2 separate regions of the Homo sapiens genome follow, and region 1 is linked to region 2. Evidence: promoter capture Hi-C in 16 types of primary human blood cells and fetal thymus (Javierre and others, 2016). All regions are on one chromosome and are shown on one strand. The core of a region is centred on a gene start or on the middle of the fragment in contact, and the rest is flanking DNA. Distances in the headings are between cores, read along the strand shown. Region 1 has its middle 9.6 kb from the start of RBMXL1. Region 2 holds the start of LRRC8C (leucine rich repeat containing 8 VRAC subunit C).

What was found. The method cuts DNA at HindIII sites, captures the fragments that hold promoters and counts their contacts. A CHiCAGO score of 5 or more calls a contact.
Region 1: a fragment that was not itself captured here is called in contact with the fragment with the promoter of LRRC8C in region 2 in 1 of 17 cell types (naive CD8 T cells); the score reaches 6.4 in naive CD8 T cells.

The regions. Positions count from the first base shown.
Region 1 is chr1:89,000,609-89,003,779 of GRCh38, reverse strand. No RefSeq gene overlaps it. Among named protein-coding and RNA genes, the nearest start is that of RBMXL1, 9.6 kb to the right of the region's middle. The HindIII fragment of the contact is 3,251 bases long and covers 1-3,047 here.
Region 2 is chr1:89,631,271-89,634,394 of GRCh38, reverse strand. LRRC8C (leucine rich repeat containing 8 VRAC subunit C) reads right to left here and starts at 1,275. Exons shown (of 3, transcript NM_032270.5): 1 at 1,073-1,275. It overlaps LRRC8C-DT (LRRC8C divergent transcript), which reads left to right and starts at 1,501. Exons shown (of 3, transcript NR_033981.1): 1 at 1,501-1,738; 2 at 2,186-2,379. RefSeq lists enhancers at 304-353, 384-433 and a silencer at 814-1,473. The HindIII fragment of the contact is 6,667 bases long and covers 1-2,996 here.

The DNA of each region.
Region 1 (3,171 bases), core at 173-2,672, 630 kb after region 2:
TATAAAGGAAAACATATCAGACTAACCTAGCAGATTTCTCAGCAGAAACCGTACAAGCCAGAAGGCAATGCGGCCCTATCTTTAGCCTCTTCAAACAAAACAATTATCAGCCAAGAATTCTGTTTCCAGCAAAACTAAGCATCAAACGTAAAGGAAAGAAACAGTCATTTTCAGACAAAATTGCTGAGAGAATTCACCATTACCAAGCCACCACTATAAGAACTGCTAAAAGGAGGTCTAAATCTTGAAACGAAGCCTGGAAACACACCAAAACAGAACCTCTTTAAAGCATAAATCATACAGGACCTACAAAACAAAAATACAAGGTAAAAAGCAAAAGCAAAAAACAAAAACAAAAAAATAACAAAGTACACAGGCAACAAAGAGTACGATGAACGCAAGGATTACCTCACATTTCAATACTAACATTGAATGTAAATCACCTAAATGCTCCACTTAAAAGATACAGAACTGCAGAACAGATAAGAACTCACCAATCAACTATCCACTGTCTTCAGGAGACTCACCGAACACATAAGGACTCACATAAAGTTAAAGTAAATGGGTGGAAAAAGCCATTTCATGCAAATGGACACCAAAAGCGACCAGAGGTAACTATTCTTATATCAGACAAAACAAACTTTAAAGCAACAGTGGTTAAAAGAGACAAAGAGGGACATTATATAATGATAAAAGGCTTGTCCAACAGGAAAATATCACAATCCTAAACATATATGCACCTAACACTGGAGCTCCCAAATTTATAAAATAATTACTAATAGACCTAAGAAATGAGATAGACTGCAATACAATAATGCTGGAGGACTTCAATACTCCACTGACAACACTAGACAGGTCATTAAGACAGAAAATCAACAAATAAACAATGGATTAACTATACTTTGGAACAAATGGACTTAACAGATACATACAGAAAATTTCTTCCAACAACCTCACAATACACATTCTATTCAACCGTGCATGGAACTTTCTCCAAAATGGACCACATGATAGGCCATAAAATGAGCCTCAATAAATTTAAGAAAATTAAAATTATATCAAACACACTATCGGACCACAGTGGAATAAAACTGGAAATCAACTCCAAAGGGAATCTTCAAAACCATGCAAATACATGGAAATTAAATAACCTGCTCCTGAATGAGCATTGGGTCAAAAACAAAATCAAGATGGAAATTAAAAAATTCTTCAAACTGAATGACAATAATGACACAACCTATCAAAACCTCTGGGATACAGCAAAGGCAGTGCTAAGAAGAAAGTTCATAGCCCTAAACACCTACATCAAAAAGTCTGAAAGTGCACAAACAGACAATCTAAGTTCACACCTCAAAGAACTAGAGAAACAAGAACAAACCAAACCCAAACCCAAACCCACCAGAAGAAAGGAAATAACCAAGATCAGAGAAATAAATGAAATTGAAAAAAACTACAAAAGATAAATGAAACAAAAAGCTGGTTCTTTGAAAAGAAAAATAACATTGATAGACCATTAGCAAGATTAACTAAGAAAAGAAGAGAGAAAATCCAAATAACTTCACTAACAAACAAAACAGGAGGTATTAAACCTGACACCACTGAAATACAAAAGATCATTCAAGGCTACTATAAACTCAGCAAAATTAAGTTACTTCCTCCTTAGTTTGGTAGCATCAATGTCCTGACCCAAATCCATATCATCTGACTTCTGATTTAGTGCTTTTCTTTAATATCTCCAGGAATCAAATAAAGCTCACTGTCCAAGGAGGCATGTTGCTTTCACCAGTGCTCCTCAATCCTGATATGCATTAAAATCACCTTATTAAGTATAAAGATTCCCTGGCCCCTACCCTTCCTCTGACTTTCTGACATAGTAGGTCTGAGAGTGTCATTGAGTGCAACAATGACAAGAAAATGGCAATGCAATGCTATGATTTTCTTGCATTGTTCCTGGATCTACAACCAGGAGTACTGGCCATTGGGAGCCTGAATAAGTTGGCTCTGGAATCCTTTTGGAATGACCCTGTAGCCTTCTCACTATCTGTATGACAAGGTGCTTCAGGTTTCCCTTATTCATTTCCTGTTTGCTGAAGCTACCATAGCTTAAGGCCTAAAATTGCTGGCCTGTATGGTATGTGTCTCTGTGCCAAAAATATTTTCAGTTTACAGAAGTATTTCTTCTCTTGTTTAAGTAATAAGTTGCTAGTTTTCCTTCTCTGAGTTTAGTGAAAGGAAATACAAGCTCCTCTGATCCACAGGGAAGGAGCACATCAAACACTGAGATCCTGACAAAAAAAAAGAAAAAAAAAGGCAGAAATCCCTCAGTGAAACCTGTCCAATCAGTCTTACAAATGACCAGGCTCAAGAATCAACAAAGCCAAATAAAGTGTTTCTACCAAAAAAATTTTAAAAAACATCAAGATTTAAGAAATACTTTTAATCTTTGATGCATTAAATAGTAAAACTAAAAATCAACATTTCAACATTCTGACAACTCTATGTGTATAACTTCTGCAACTCAAATGGACTAATTTCTGAAAAAAGCACAAACAAGCAACTAAAACTCACCCAAGTTAAAATAGATAACCTGAACTGTCATATAATTTCTAAAGAAACTGAAATGGAGTAAAAAAGTTAAGAATCTGAAAAACAAATCTCCACATCCAGATAGTTCCTCTTGACTGGCAAACCTTACTAAGCATTTTTTAAATAATTCCAATTCTTAATAATTTCTTTCAGAAAATATAAAAGGGAACATTTCCCAATTCATTCTATGAGCACAGCATCATCCTGATAACAAAATTAAACAAATACAGTACAAAAGTAAACTACAGACCATTATCCCTCATAAACATAGATGCAAAAATCCTCTACAAACTATTAACAAATCAAATCCAGCAATATAGAAAAATAATGCACACCAATCAAGTGGGATTCATCCTGTGGATGTAAAGCAGTTCAAAAATCAACTAGTGTAATTCACCACACTAAAAGTCTAAAGAAGGAAAAAAAATCACATGGTTATATAAATAGATAAAGAAAAAGCTTGATAAAATATGACAGTCATTCATATGAAAACTCAGCAAATAGGAGTGGAAATGAACTTCTTCAAACCGATCAAGGGCATCTGCAAAAACTCTACAGCTAACATCATACTTGATGAAACACTGA
Region 2 (3,124 bases), core at 26-2,525:
CTATTCCTTCCTTCAAAGGCTGCTTTAAATGGAGGTAATTCAAGCCTCCCCGTGCCAAACACCGGCACTCCAACAAAGATGGATTGGTTCTTATTTTTTACTTTGAGGATGGGAACCTGAAAATGTTTCCTAACGTTTGCTGAGGCTTTAACATGTTTAAGGAATTTGAAACCAAGGGAAGTTTAGCCGTAATACTCTGAAATATCCGCATTAGGATGCGGGCTAGGTGTCCGGCTGTTGCAAAACTACGGAGGATGCGAGGTTTGGAAGAAACTGTTTGGACTTTGCTGTATACCGGGCAGGCGTGGGGGTTGGGGAGGGAAGAACCGGCTGAGGGAGAAAAGAAAGGCATTCGTGTCCACAGAACACATCTAAGGCTCCTGAGTTGCTAACTCCATCCCTAATCATCTCATTGGTGGGAACCAGCTGGAAAGGGAAAGATCAGCGAGCCTAGGCGTGGGATGAAGGCAGCGGTTTTGGCCTCAACCGCTGGCCTAAACACCTGGCTTCTGGGGCCCGCCCGATCAAGCTGAACCCCTTCCCTCCTGTCCTGCAGGTGAGCACACGGTGCTCTCACGTTTCTTCGAGAAACCTTCCAATTCCTTTCCCTGCCCAAAAGTGCTAACTTCAAGGGTTCGGAGGTGGCAGGGGGGTGATAGACCGGAAAGGACTGGCCCCGGGGTCTCAGAGATTTTCGAGGTAGGAAAGAACAACGATCGCCCCGGCCACGGACGCATTTCCCCTCGCGGACCGCCCCCCCACCCCCGCGCCCAGTCTGCAGGACCTGCCGCTGCGGCGCGGCGTTGGGCGCCAGGCTGAGATCCTCGCGCGGCCGCTCGGGCTAGCGCGGATTGGGTGGGGTAGGGGTTGGCGGGCTCCTGAGCCGCAGTAGCGGAAGGTTCCCAGCACCACACGCCGGGCGGGCAACCACATTCTGCCTGTCTGAGAGCCGGGGGGAAGCAAGGACGCGAGTGAGGCGGGGCGAGTCCCGGTCCGGCGCGCACAGCGGACCGAGCGGGTGGCCCTCTGCGGGCTGCCCCTCTCCATCCCTCCGCGGATCCCCCGCCCTTACCTCCGGGCGCGAGAGTGTCGACTGGAGAAGGTGCTAGGGAGCGGCGAGCTGCCTGGGGGTCGGGCTCAGCGGCTGCCAGGGACGGCGGCGTCGCCCGCGGGGTCGCTGCTCATGGCTTGTCGCGCCCGAGCACTGCGGCCGCGGCCACGGCGGCGCCTTCCTCCTACTTCTCTTCGCGGGCTTCCAGCCGGGACGCAGCTAACGCCCCAGCCCCGCAAGCCCTCCTCCCCTCCGCCTCCCCGGCCGCGGACGGAGCCGCCTCCAGCGCCGCCCCGCACGCAGCCCGGCTAGCGGCAGCCAGCGCCGCCCAGCGCCCGGCCCCGGGGTCGCCACCGCCCGCCGAGTCGACTCCGCGGTGCCAGCCCCGCTGTGACGCAGGCCGCGCCGCCCGGGAACTTCCTCCCCTGCAGAGACCACCTCGCTCCCGGGACTCGCCAGCGAGGGATGCCGCCGGCCGCCGGGGGCCTTCTCCAGGACCAGGAGAGAAATCCTCTCTCCGCTTCACGACGCGGCCACTCCCACCCCTGAGACGCCCACCTGGCGGACTCTGAGGGAGGATTCGGCTGCGTCTAATACCACCTCCACCCCTCATCCCTCACAATGCGCGGAAAACCACAGGCGGCTGTGCGCGCAGCGTCGGCTCAGCCACCGCAGCTCCTCCCCTGGGTAAGTTAGAGGGGAGCAGCCACCACTAAAAATAGCCCTTCTGGGAACTCCTCCGAAGGCCAGGGTCAGGATGAAGATAACCCCTCCACAGGAGAAGCGAAGGCCTCCTAAGAGAAGGGTGGGGAGGGGACGGTGGGATAGAATGAGGAAGATGGAGAAGGAGAAAAGCAAAACCCAATATCCTTGGATCATGAAGCCCTTGAGCCCCTTGACAACCAAGTCTCCTTTCAGGCCGGAATCCCCAACTGCACCGCCCCTGCAATACGGGCTAAGGGGCAGATTCCAGGGAGACTCAGTTGGAATGCCCCGCCTACAGCTCCCGCATAAAGGAGTTGACGGTGCACAGCAAAACCACCTGTTGTTTAACGAGTATGGAGGGAGGGGTTCTCTCTCATTGATTGATCTGAACCGTGCTTTTCTTCTCCCCATTTTCCCACCCAATTTCAGGATGAAAAAGCACTCTGACGTCTTGAAAGCTGGCAGCTCTCTGTTTGGAAAATCTCTGCCCAGTGAAAAAATGTACCGACAAGATTACTAAGTAACACAGTCTTCTGGGAATGCCTTATCAATGCCAGCTATTTGAAGAGCACCCAAAGTCAAACTAGTGCTCCGCGCTGGCAGTCTGGAAAAGGCAGATGTATGTGAGTAGAGAAACTGATAGACAACTAGTTGCTGGCCAGTTGGCCTGTTTTCGTGCTACAAGCCTTCAGAAAACAGTCGCCTCCTTTTACCACGTTTCTATTTCTAAACCAAAATGAAAAGGACGTTTGTTCAAAAGATATTCTCTTGGGCTTTACATTGCTTTCCCCCTGCTCACTCAGCAAAATCCTACACTTTTTTTCCAATTCCAATGCTGCTGTTGGGTGTCCTTCCCAGAAGACAACCTTAAATTCTCTTAGGCCTTAGGAGCTGAATCTAACACCAGTCTTAATTAACCTACAACAAGACAAAAATTTAGGTCCGGGCTTACCTCCTAGTCAGCAGATGGGAAAAATTCCTAGAGAGTCTCTGGGAAAAAGGCAAAGGCTAACTTTAGCAGTTTGCTAGAAAAAAAAAAATTCAAGTACCTTGTAAGTCACCAGGGTAGATGCAGCAATACTCTCTAAGGTAGCTTTACCTCTTCAATTCTCTTACCTTACCTGAATTTAAACACAGTGAGGCAAGTACCAAGGTCACAACCCTCCTGTGGAGGGCCTTATTCTGCAAGGGCTCTCTGATATACTTCTATCTTTGTACCGTTGGCACCTGACCACAAGCTTAGGCATCCCTGAAATGCTCCCTTGCTACCCAGTGTCAAGGAATCATTGAACCTTAGACTTTGTACTCAGGTGAACCAGGATGAAATCCCTATTCTTCCAGTTTAAACTTAGGAAATTTACTGTTCTT